Regions from separate parts of the Homo sapiens genome. Here all the other regions are linked to region 3. Evidence: promoter capture Hi-C in human tissues and cell types (Jung and others, 2019). All regions are on one chromosome and are shown on one strand. The core of a region is centred on a gene start or on the middle of the fragment in contact, and the rest is flanking DNA. Distances in the headings are between cores, read along the strand shown. Region 1 overlaps CBFA2T2 (CBFA2/RUNX1 partner transcriptional co-repressor 2). Region 2 overlaps CHMP4B (charged multivesicular body protein 4B). Region 3 holds the start of ACTL10 (actin like 10).

The links. The method cuts DNA at HindIII sites, captures the fragments that hold promoters and counts their contacts. A contact is called where the count stands out against the background at its distance.
Region 1: a fragment that was not itself captured here is called in contact with the fragment with the promoter of ACTL10 in region 3 in 3 of the 25 tissues and cell types used here (aorta, lymphoblastoid cells and mesendoderm cells).
Region 2: a contact is called between a fragment that was not itself captured here and the fragment with the promoter of ACTL10 in region 3, in 3 of the 25 tissues and cell types used here (dorsolateral prefrontal cortex, mesenchymal stem cells and spleen).

What each region holds. Positions count from the first base shown.
Region 1 is chr20:33,532,348-33,536,618 of GRCh38, forward strand. All of the region lies in intron 1 of CBFA2T2 (CBFA2/RUNX1 partner transcriptional co-repressor 2), which reads left to right. Among named protein-coding and RNA genes, the nearest start is that of CBFA2T2, 44 kb to the left of the region's middle. RefSeq lists enhancers at 1,552-2,051, 3,948-4,271. The HindIII fragment of the contact is 8,204 bases long and covers 1-4,271 here.
Region 2 is chr20:33,848,404-33,852,357 of GRCh38, forward strand. It overlaps CHMP4B (charged multivesicular body protein 4B), which reads left to right. Exons shown (of 5, transcript NM_176812.5): 2 at 64-241; 3 at 2,549-2,663; 4 at 3,674-3,800. Among named protein-coding and RNA genes, the nearest start is that of CHMP4B, 39 kb to the left of the region's middle. The HindIII fragment of the contact is 3,016 bases long and covers 1-2,766 here.
Region 3 is chr20:33,664,483-33,668,763 of GRCh38, forward strand. It overlaps ACTL10 (actin like 10), which reads left to right and starts at 2,461. Exons shown (of 1, transcript NM_001024675.2): 1 at 2,461-4,043. The coding sequence starts at 3,016. The coding sequence ends at 3,753. All of the region lies in intron 5 of NECAB3 (N-terminal EF-hand calcium binding protein 3), which reads right to left. RefSeq lists enhancers at 1-303, 2,154-2,373, 3,184-3,263 and a silencer at 2,504-2,833. The HindIII fragment of the contact is 10,203 bases long and covers 918-4,281 here.

The DNA.
Region 1 (4,271 bases), core at 356-2,855, 130 kb before region 3:
AGAAGTTGACATTTGAGTTTACAGCAGAAACGTTGGGCAAGGGGTAGGGAATGATCTCTGAGATAGCAGCATACCCGATCTACTAGCTCTTTTTCACCAGGCTATTTAGAGTTTGACATTTATGTTACATTTATAACAAGGTACATTTCAAGTGTAGCTTTCCTTTTTGCTTTAAGCAACTGAGACATGTAAGTCAATTTCAGTTATTTTCTGCTAAACTGTGTGTCTCTTTGAATGTTCACTATCAAGGTGAATTATACAAGGTGTGTTAGATCCTTTTAACATTTCAGAGCAACCAAAACCAAGTTTGAATGTCTCATTTAACACTGTGAGAGGATGTATCTTGTCTGCATCTTGTGTTTCAGTTGTATTTATCGGTAAAATAAGCCAGGGGAGTATTCTGACTTGCAGTTTAAAAGCTGACAGGCCTAGGGGAATGTTCCACAAAATAGTATATTTTGTATATGGCATGGTATTATAGATAAATGAGCTATTGTGCTGCCTGGCACTGTCTTCTCCCTTGTGCTGTCTTCTGCTGTTTCTCAAGGAGTGATTCCTCTCTGTGTTTTGGAACCGTGTTTCTCACTGCCTACAGATGATGTCCATTTGGCTTATTTCACTGTCATCTCATACACAGCTGTTTCAAACTGCATGGAATCCTCAGAGAACTACACGCCCCTTCCTGAACAAACAGTGCTTCTTCCTGCATTTTCTTCTTAAACTTTTATCACTTTTCCCCCCTTACATATACTTTTGTTTTATTCTTTCACTAAAAAAAAAATGAGGTTTAATTGACTTACAATAAACTACACATATGTAAAGTGTACAGTTTGCTCAGGTTTGGCAGGTATACCTGTGAAATGATCACTGCAATCAAGATAGTCAACATATCATTCACTCCATAAAGTATCCTTGTGCCCATTGGTAATCTCTCCCTCCCATGCTCCCCCTGCCCTGTCTCCAAGCAAACACTAATCTGCTTTCAGTCACTATAGATTAGTGTGCATTTTATAGAATTTTATGTATATATGTTTTATATAGATGAAATCATACAATATGCACTCCTTTCCTTCCATCCTTTCTTCCTTTTTAGGTCTGGTTTCTTTCATCCAGCATAATTATTTTAAGATGTATGTATCAGTAGTTTATTCCATTTTATTGTTGAGTAGTATTCTGTTGTATGGATATATCACATTTGTTTATTTGCCTGTGGATAGATGTTTGAGTTGTTTCCAGTCTTTGGCTATTGCAAATAAAGCTTCTTTGAACATTCATATATAAATGTTTATATGGACATATGCTTGCTTTTGTCTTTTCTTTTTTAAAAAAAAAAGCACAGATGGGAACCGGGCGTGGTGGCTCATGCCTGTAATCCCAGCACTTTGTGAGGCTGAGGTGGGCGGATCACCTGAATGTTAGGAGTTCAAGACCAGCTTGGCCAACATGGTGAAACTCCGTCTCTACTAAAAATACAGCAGTTAGCCTTGCATGGTGGTGTGTGCCTGTAATTCCAGCTACTCAGGAGGGTGAGGCTGGAGAACCGCTTGAACCCTGGAAGTGGAGGTTGCATTGAGCCGAGGTTTCAGTGAGCCGAGATCACGCCAGTGCTCTCCAGCCTGGGTGACAGAGCGAGACTCCATCTCAGAAACAACAACAACAGCAACAACAAATAGAGATGGGGTTCGAGCCCAGGCTAGTCTTGAACTCCTGGGCTCTAGTGATACTCCTGCCTTGGCCTCCCAGACAAAGTGTTGGGATTACAGGTGTTAAACCACTGTGCCCAGACTCTTTTTCCTTTGTAAATACATAGGAATGGTGTGGTTGCATCATATGTTTTAACTATTTAAGAAATTGCCAAACTTTTTCTAAAATATTTTCAAGTACTTACCATCTATATATCTTCTTTGGTGAAATGTCTGTTTAAATCTTTTACCCATTTAAAAAAATTACATTGTTTATTTTCTTGCTGTTGAGGTTTTTGTTTGTTTGTTTGAGACAGTCTCACTCTGTTGCCCAGGCTGGAGTACAGTTGTGCGATCCCAGCTCGCTGCAGCCTCCACCTCCTGGGTTCAAGTGATCCTGAACTTCCTGAGTAGCTGGGACTACAGGCACGCGCCACCACGCCCGGCTAATTTTTGTATTTTTAGTAGAGACGAGGTTTCACCATGTTGGCCAGGCTGGTCTTGAACTCCTGGCCTCAAGTGATCCGTCCACCTCGGCCTCCCAAAGTGCTGAGATTATAGGCATGATCCATTGCCCCCAGCCTGTTGAGGTTTTTTTTTAAATCAGGTATATAATCAGGTATATGCTTTGCAAATATTTTCTCCCAGCGTATTACTTGTCTATTTTCTTAACAGTTTCTTTCAAAGAATAGAGTTAAAAAGATTTTTTGTATCTTTTTAGCTTTTTTTTTTTTTTTTTTTTTGAGCAGTCAGAACACACACAGCATTTATTGGAAGTTTTCCATCTTATATGGGCACAGTTTGTGGCTCCCCAAAACAATTAGAATAGTAATATCAAAGATCACTGATCACAGATCACCATAACAGATATAATAATAATGAGAAACTGTGAAATGTCGCAAAAATTACCAAAATGTGATCCAGAGACAGGAAGTGAGTGCATGCTGTTGGACAAATGGCACTGATAGATTTGCTTGACACAGGGTTGCCAGAAACCTTCCATTTGTTAAAAAATGCAATATTTGTGAAGTACAATAAAGTGAAACACAGTAAAATGAGGTGTGCTGGGCATCCTGCCATTTATGCACATGCCTCTTTAGGTAGAAAATAATCCTGTAAAAGTTGAGGCTGTGGTTGCCTTTCTGAGAATCTTGTCTACAGAAATGGTCAACTGGTGGCCAGCTAGCCAAAGGGCTAATCTAGCCCACAGACATGTTTAGTTGGGGCTACATAGAGCTTTTTACAAATTTGAGTCAATATTTAGAAAATAAAAGTCTGGATTTTGGGATTCCCTTACAAAAACTGGAAAATTTGGCCACACTGGGTCATATTCCCACATAGTCGTGGTGGTTGGGGTTCAGTAGCAGTAGCTGCTGCCCCTTAAGACAGGTCCCCATGGTCCCCACTCAGTTGCTTCCTTATTTATCTTACAAGCCTGGCAAGGAATTTGAGTTGAACTGATCTAGAAGATTGGTGCTAAGAACCAGCTCAGTGGCTTAGCTGTCCTGGGGTCTGCAGGAGAAGGCTTCTTTGTTAGGCCCAGGCAGGAAGTCTGGGCATGGATTGAGTTTTATTTTTATTTTTTTATTTTTTCTTTTTTTTTTTGACCTTTTAAATATTTATTTATTTTATTTTATTTTATTTATTTATTTATTTTTAATTGATCATTCTTGGGTGTTTCTCGCAGAGGGGGAGTTGGCAGGGTCATAGGACAATAGTGGAGGGAAGGTCAGCAGATAAACAAGTGAACAAAGGTCTCTGGTTTTCCTAGGCAGAGGACCCTGCGGCCTTCCGCAGTGTTTGTGTCCCTGGGTACTTGAGATTAGGGAGTGGTGATGATTCTTAACGAGCATGCTGCCTTCAAGCATCTGTTTAACGAAGCACATCTTGCACCGCCCTTAATCCATTTAAGCCTGAGTGGACACAGCACATGTTTCAGAGAGCACAGGGTTGGGGGTAAGGTCACCGATCAACAGGATCCCAAGGCAGAAGAATTTTTCTTGGTACAGAACAAAATGAAAAGTCTCACATGTCTACTTCTTTCTACACAGACACGGCAACCATCCGATTTCCCAATCTTTTCCCCACCTTTCCCCCCTTTCTATTCCACAAAACCGCCATTGTCATCCCGGCCCATTCTCAATGAGCTGTTGGGTACACCTCCCAGACGGGGTGGTGGCCGGGCAGAGGGGCTCCTCACATCCCAGTAGGGGCGGCCGGGCAGAGGCGCCCCTCATCTCCCAGACGGGGCGGCTGGCCGGGCGGGGGGCTGACCCCCCCCACCTCCCTCCCAGACGGGGCGGCTGGCCGGGCAGAGGGGCTCCTCACTTCCCAGTAGGGGCGGCCGGGCAGAGGCGCCCCTCACCTCCCGGACAGGGTGGCTGGCCGGGCGGGGGGCTGACCCCCCCACCTCCCTCCCGGACGGGGCGGCTGGCCTGGCGGGGGCTGACCCCCACCTCCCTCCCGGACGGGGTGGCTGCTGGGTGGAGACACTCCTCACTTCCCAGACGGGGTGGCTGCCGGGCGTAGGGGCTCCTCACTTCTCAGACGGGGCGGCTGCCGGGCGGAGGGGCTCCTCACTTCTCAGAC
Region 2 (3,954 bases), core at 9-2,508, 180 kb after region 3:
AGTGACACTAGAACCTCACCCTGTGCCGGGACTCTCTGAAACCCTGTTTTCTCCCTCACGCAGCGGCCCTCCAGGCACTGAAGCGTAAGAAGAGGTATGAGAAGCAGCTGGCGCAGATCGACGGCACATTATCAACCATCGAGTTCCAGCGGGAGGCCCTGGAGAATGCCAACACCAACACCGAGGTGCTCAAGAACATGGGCTATGCCGCCAAGGCCATGAAGGCGGCCCATGACAACATGTACGTGTCCACCCGCCCCTGCGCCACAGGGCAGTGCTAGTCCCGGAATGCCTCGTACCCAGGCCATGGCCTTGGGCAGACGGATCCCTTGACTTACCTATTCGAGCACCTGAGTTTGTTTTAATTCTCATTCTTTTTTGGAACTCCGAAAATGGATGACGTGCCTTTGAAAGGAGATCTCATGGGATGTAAAAGTACTTTCTGAGTAATTCAGGGTTATTGTGATGAGCATAGTTTCAAGCTGGAAAGGCCTTTAGAAGGTCCTCTTGTCCAGACCTGTGAATGTGAAGGTGGGGAAGCTGTGTCCCAGAGAGGGAAGCGGATTTGCCCTGTGTGACATGGGAGCTTGGTTAGAACTGGGATTAGAATCGGTGCCCATGATTTTTCCCTGATGCTGTCAGGGGCCCTGAAATGTGTGGTTCATCCAAGAGCTTTGGATCTCTCTGTTCCTATGTCTGCTTTTGATGGCGTTTTCTGCCTCCTCTCTTGCTCTCCGGCTGTAGCTGTCATTGACAGTGATCTTGCCCTCAGCAGTCCTTCTTCCCCTATATGGCTACCTCTCATGGCAGTGGCCTAAGAAACTAGATAACCAAGCTTGTTACAGTTGTAACTAAAGGCCAAGGTAAGGAGGCTCCAAATGAAGGCCTCTCTCTTGAATACAATCTGCATTTGGGCTGGGTGAGGTGGCTCACGCCTATAATTCCAGCACTTTGGGAGGCTGAGGCAGGCAGATCACCTGAGGTCAGGAGTTCGAGACCAGCCTGGCCAACATAGTTGAAACCCCATCTCTACTAAAAATACAAAAATTAGCTGGGTGTCGTGGCATGCGCCTGTAATCCCAGCTACTGGCGGCTGAGGCAGGAGAATCGTTTGAACCCAGGAAGTGGAAGTTGCAGTGAGCCAAAATTGCACCACTGCACTCCAGCCTGGGCGACAGAGTGAGACTCTATCTCAATAAAAAAATAAAAAATAAAAAATAAAAAATCTGCATTTGTTGTAGTGCTTAGATTTGGCAGCATATATTTGGGGGTGCTAGGTGCCTTTTTTGCTTCCTTTTGGGTACTCAGCTGTGCTGTCCAATGGGTGGGAAAATGCACCCTATGGGCTTGCCATCTGTTTTTGTAAATAAAGTTTTATTATTATTTGAGACAAGGTCTTGCTGTGTCTGTCACCTGGGCTGGAATGCTGTGGCCCAATCCTAGCTCACTGCACTCTCAAAATCCTGGGCTCAAGCCATCCTCTCACTTCAGCCTCCTGAGTAGCTCAGACTACAGGTGTGTGACATTATGCCTGGCTAATTTTTAAAATTTTCTGCAGGGATGGGGTCTCACTGTGTTGCCCAGACTGGTCTCAAACTCCTGGCCTCAAGTGATCCTCCCTCCTGGGCCTCTCAAAGTTTTGGGATTACAGGTGTGAGTCACTGTGCCTAGCCTTAAAAGTTTTATTGAAATACAGTCATGCCCCTTAATTTACATATTGTCTGTGGCAGCTTTTGTGCTACGCAGCAGGGTTAAGTATTTGCAACAGAGACTGTCTGGCCATAAATTCTAAAGTGTTTACTGTCTGGCCCTTTGCAGAAAAAGCTTGCTGATGTTGCTCTAGAAATGTGAGGTTGCAGGAGAAGTAGCCTTCAAATAAGTGAGGTTTTGTCTGAGGGTGGATGTTCATTGGACCGAGCTGCTTGAATGAGAACCATATATGCCTCATTTCTGTGTTCTCCTGGAAACCTAGCAGAGTGCAGCTCATTAAATACTGTGCAAATGTTGACGTATATGTGTGTATGTTGGCTTGAGTAAATATAGGTTTATATGATTGTCAGTGTGTAGAAGAAAATTCTGCATATTTGCGGAATTTGCCTTTCCTTTGGGGTCCTAGAGGATCCATAGGTGGACTGAGTAGATGGAAGGCCCATTAGACAGCATGGCTGTCTTCTGTGATTTGTGCTTTTACTTCCCCCTGTACAGAGTTACCCTTGGACTTGAAAAAGAGCTATTGGCCCAGGAGTTAAAGCCCTGCGGTCTTAATGTGATACCTTTACTAATTTGTATGTAGGACCTTGATAGTGCCACCTGTAGGGTGTTGGACTGGGTAGTGTCTTAAAGACATTCCCGTCCCCTTGAGTCTATGATTCTCTATTTTAAAGGGGAGGAGGCAATAATGCCAAGTAACCCCTCACAGGGAGTCATTGCAGGGGGTGTGGCTGGGAAGCTGATTTTGTGGGGCCCAGTTTCTGCTCCCGCCTTGCCTTGCAGGCCCCCTTTACGCAGCCTAATCGATTGATATGATACCTGTCCATTGCATTTGAAGGGACATCGATAAAGTTGATGAGTTAATGCAGGACATTGCTGACCAGCAAGAACTTGCAGAGGAGATTTCAACAGCAATTTCGAAACCTGTAGGGTTTGGAGAAGAGTTTGACGAGGTGAGTAGTTTTGTACAGATCCCATAAGCTTCACAAATGATACCCTGAGGCTGTCCCTTGATGTGCTCTTGAAGGCTCTCAGGCAGGGAGCATTTGGACTTGGACAGAGACAGGGCATGGTGTTAACCCTCCCTGAATTCTGCATTTTGAGGGACACTTTCTCTATTTGGGGTGGAAGCTTAGGTAGAGTAAAGGCACATTCATCAGGACCCTTCAGCAGGCTTCAGGTCACTAACTGATTTGAACAAGTAGCTAGCCTGCACCTTTCCAGGGTGGGCCCTGGCACAGAGCTGGGCAGCAGAGATGACCATGCCCTGGAGAAGTTCACAGGATTTTCCCTGAGACAGCTTCAGCATGAGGGAAAGGTAGAGCAAAGAGGGGGCACTTACCCCTGACCCGGGGTATCTGTCTAGATCTCGGCCATCTGCCAGTTTCTGCTGTAGCAATTTGGGACCTTGAGTCTCTTAGGTTTTTAAAGTATGGTACCAGCCCCTGTTGAAGGTATTTCACTGTGTGCTAGATTTGTGTCTCCTGAAGGTTAGGTCCTTTCTGCTGGACCTTTGTGCTTTCTGACCCCTGCTGTATAACCGAGAAAACAGCGTGCAGCTCTTACCTTTGGCTCTCAACACCAGGGTTTTCATGTTTTCACACTGGAGTTCGATGGATGAATCGAGTTCATTTCAAATCAGCAAACATTTCTGAGCATTCACTCGTGTGCCCAGCTCTGAGCCAAATAAATAGGAAGGCAAAGATATGATCCCCTCTCCCAGATGCTCACAGTCTAGTGCAGGACACCAGAGGTCTACATCAGTGATGTGCAGCAGTGATACGTTCCCCAGTAGAAGCTGCTTTAGGATATTTGAATCACAGGGTCTGGAACCTGGAATTCACCTCCCCGCAGACCTTCTCAGAGGGGTGTGTGTCTCCATGAGCATTAATTAGGTAGGAGGCATGACCGCGGGGGCTGGGATTCCCAGGGAGGGCGCTCACTTTGTGTTTCCTTTTACTAGGATGAGCTCATGGCGGAATTAGAAGAACTAGAACAGGAGGAACTAGACAAGAATTTGCTGGAAATCAGTGGACCCGAAACAGTCCCTCTACCAAATGTTCCCTCTATAGCCCTACCATCAAAACCCGGTGAGTGCTTCTAGAGTCATGGCACACCGTGAGGTCATGTGGCAGGTGATCTTGTGGTCGGTTGGCTTTGGTTTGTGGTCGGTTGGCTTTGGTTTGTGGTCGGTTGGCTTTGGTCTGTGTCCTGAGCTTGCCCAAGATTGAGAACCAGACAGGA
Region 3 (4,281 bases), core at 1,211-3,710:
CACCTGTCTCCCAACCTACCCTGTCCCATCTCCTTCCCCACGTGACAAAGACTAATTCCAAACCACTTACCTGTCTAGGGCAGCTCACTCCCCTGCTCATAAGCTTTCAACAGGTCTCCATTACCAACAGGGAAAAAGCCCACAGCTTCAGTCTCACTCCCCAAATCACTTAGAAGAAGCCCTGCCACACTTTCTGTGGGCGGGATCCTGCTGCTGCTTCTCCTCACTCTCCCGGGTCCCAAATCCAGCTCCACACCCAATGCCACCCCTGGCCTGCCAAACCTGCAGCCCGCCTTCCTGCCACACTCTGGTGACCAACCTCAGGATGCCCTCTTTTGGGGGCAGATGCAGCAGGACTGAAGTCCCAGCTCACTACAGCCATCAGCCCAGCTTCTGCTGAAGATGCACTTTTGTCACCGCCACCAGGATGAACATCTCCTCCACCTTGCCTGCACCAGGCTGGAGGCTGCAAGAGCTATAACATCACTCCTGCTAATTGTGAGAACTGACTCTTCCCTACCATCCACATGGTTACAATCAGGGTAACCATGTTCTTCCATGGGGCTGCACCTCCTGCCCATACAGTGATTGGCCCAAGCTGGTCCTGTCAGCCCCTCCCCCTAGGACTGTGATTCAGGAGCTGTAAGAGACCATGTTCTCTACTTGAACATGCACAGGCTAAGCCAGCCTTCAGAATAAAAACACAATGCAGGCCAAGCGCAGTGGATCACGCCTGTAAACCCAGCACTTTGGGAGGCTGAGGCAGGCAGATCACGAGGTCAGGAGATCGAGACCATCCTGGCTAACACGGTGAAACCCCGTCTCTACTAAAAATACAAAAAACTAGCCAGGCATCATGGCGGGCGCCTGTAGTCCCAGCTACTCGGGAGACTAAGGCAGGGGAATTGAACCCAGGAGGCAGAGGTTGCAGTGAGCTGAGATCACACCACTGCACTCCAGCCTGGGCAAGAGAGCGAGACTCCATCTCAAAAAACAAACAACACAATGCAGTGCACATCCTGGGTTCCCCACAGCCCCGCAGTCAGATTCTGTTCCTGAAACCTGATTTCACCCTTGCTCTTGATATCCATAACATGTAAGATCCTTTCAATAAAGTCCTTATTTTGGGTTACATTCACCTGAGTCTTCTACCTGCAACCAAACTGGTCCTCAGGAGGATGAGGCTTTGCAGAGACAAGAAGTGACCTCTTTCCTGTGTGGGGGGATTATTACTACCTTTTGGAGGAGAAAACCGAACCCAGAGAAAGATCAAGACTTGCTTAGGACTGCACAGTGAGTCAGCTTCAGAACTGAGTCTTGCTGGGTGCGGTGGCTCACACCTGTAATCCTAGCACTTTGGGAGTCCAAGGCAGGTGGATCACCTGAGGTCAGGAGTTCGAGACCAGCCTGGCCAACGTGGCGAAACCCTGTCTCCACTAAAAATACAAAAATTAGCCGCGTATGGTGGTGCATGCCTGTAGTCCCAGCTACTCAGGAGGCTGAGGCAGGAGAATCACTTGAACTCGGAAGGCAGAGGTTGCACTGAGCTGAGATTGCAACGCTGCACGCCCAGCCTGGGTGACCGAGACTCCGTCTCAAAAATAATAATAATAAAAAAAAGAACTGAGTCTCAAACTGAGGCCCACGTGAATCCATCCGTGGAAGCCCATAAAGGTAGGGCCAGAGCCTCTCGGGGGCTCTTCAGGGAAGCTGCAGATCTGTGATGAAAAAGCTTTTTCTTCAGCACTGGGAGGGGTAGGGGGCCACACATCTGGACAGAGTACATCAGATAATTCTAAGTGGTTTGGGAAAGGAATCAGACTGTGCTGGGCTGCTGAAGCCAGACCCCTGGATGCCAAAATCACTGCCCTTGGCTCTGTCCAGAAGAGAGGATGGGTCCAGGGAGTTGTCATAAGGTAGGGAGCTGCGAAGTGCAGCTGCTGGGGAGTGAGGTCACAATGAGCCCAATCCAAGTTCTTTTCTGCCTTCTGACCAGCCCCTCCCCTCTCCACAACCAGGAACTTCCGTCAAGCCCAGGTGAGAGGTGCCAGGAGGCTGCCTGGGTCCTCAAGGGGGATATATGTCCAAATGGCCTTACCACAAGGCCCCTTCGCCCTCAAAGTTCTGCTCCTCCCGGGGGCTTCTTAGGATCTAAAAGGATCAGTCCTAGCCATCTCGTCAGCCATCTCAGCAAGGGCTGACGGGGCGGAACAGCAAAGCAGAGGCGGGTCCTGAGAGCGTGGAGCCTGAAGCCCGGCGCCAGAGGGAGACCAAGAGGGTGAGATGCGGCTGGAACCCAGCCAGAGCGGAGACTGAAGCCTGAACTAGGGGCCGGGCCTCAGGCCTAGGAACTAGCCACGAGCTGAAAAGGAGGCGGATGGCCCGGACAGAAGAGGCGGGGCTTTCAGACCAGAGGGCGGAGCCAAGAGCTGAAAAGGGTGGTGATTTGGTCCAGAAGAGGAAGAACTTAGGCTCCGGAGGCAGAGCCAAAGGCTGAAGGGGACTACTCCCTAGGACAGAGGCCGGGAGGTATCGGGCCGACGAAGCCGAGTGGCGCGGAGGAGCGGAGCCTTCAGCCCCGCGGCTGGGCCGAGCCCGAAGGTGGCGTCGGTGTCGGGGAGCCGCCGCGTGCACCGGCCGTCCTCCCTGGGCCGCATCGCGGTGGTGGTGGACCAGGGCTCGGGCTTCACCAAGGCGGGCTTCGCGGGCGAGAACCAGCCGCGCATAGTGCTGAAGAGCTCTAGCTTGGTGCCCAGCTGGGACCGGCCGGTGCTGCCCGGAGCGCCGGGCTGCGAGCTGGCGGGCGGCGTGGCGCGGGCGCACCCCATCAAGCACGGCGTGGTGGCGGACTGGGAGGCGCTGGAAGGGCTGTGGGAGCGCCTGCTGGTGGGCGGCCTGCGGGTGTGCCCAGAGCAGTGGCCCGTGCTGGTGAGCGACTCGCCGTTGGCGCCGCCCGCGGGCCGCGAAAGGGTGGCGGAGCTGCTGTTCGAGACCCTGGCAGTGCCCGCGTGCCACATGGCTAGCACCGCGTTGCTGGCGCTCTGCTCCACCGGCGCGTTCAGCGGGCTGGCCGTGGAGGCGGGCGCGGGCGTGTGCCACGCCACGCCCATCTACGCGGGTCACTCGTGGCACCAGGCCACCTTCCGACTGAACGTGGCAGGCAGCACCCTGTCGCGCTACCTGCGGGATCTGCTGGTGGCGGCGAACCCTGACCTCTTGCAGCAGGCCCTGCCCCGCAAGGCCATCACACATCTCAAGAAGCGCAGCTGCTACGTGTCCCTGGACTTCGAGGGCGACCTCCGCGACCCCGCCCGCCACCATCCGGCCAGTTTCAGCGTGGGTAACGGGTGCTGCGTCTGCCTCAGCAGTGAGCGCTTCCGCTGCCCCGAACCCATCTTCCAGCCGGGCCTGCTGGGCCAGGCTGAGCAGGGGCTGCCCGCGCTGGCCTTCCGGGCGCTGCAGAAGATGCCCAAAACGCTGCGGACACGCCTGGCAGACACCGTGGTGCTAGCCGGCGGCTCCACACTGTTTCCTGGCTTCGCCGAGCGCCTGGACAAGGAGCTGGAGGCGCAGTGCCGGCGGCACGGCTACGCGGCCCTGCGGCCCCACCTGGTGGCCAAGCATGGGCGTGGCATGGCTGTGTGGACCGGCGGCTCCATGGTGGCCTCCCTGCACTCCTTCCAGCGCCGCTGGATAACTCGGGCCATGTACCAGGAGTGTGGCTCCAGGCTGCTGTACGATGTGTTCAACTGAGTCAGGCTGGACTGGGGGGGGTGGCACTGCGTTGGGGGACAGCTCTCTATCTAAAGAGTCAAGTGTTTGGAGCTGGCAGGGTCCTCCTGGAGGTTGGAGCTGACTGGATGGGTCACCCCCATACCCTTTCTGGGCCAGGAGAAGGTATTTGGGACCCATGGGACCCTCATTTTGAACTGCAGTTTGAATCTCCCCAACCACTGCCAGTTCAGAGAATGCCAGTCCAGCTGCCTACCCACAGGGCCCTACTTTATGGCAATAAAGGTGATGCCCCACTTGTGTCCATGCCACAGATATGGGAGTTCCTCCAAACCCTCGTCATGTACCATTTGGACATACATCCGATGCCAGGCCCCAAGGGGCGATCCCTTGAAAAGCTACTAAATCTCATGTGAAAGTCACCAGGAGGAGGAGCCCTGTGCCTAGCCATGTGCTCAGGTCATTGTTGACTATGAGTGCCTCAGTTTCCCCTTCTGTAAAAAGTGGGGTCAGGCACAATCCCGGGCCTGCTCACTGCTCCCTCCCCCT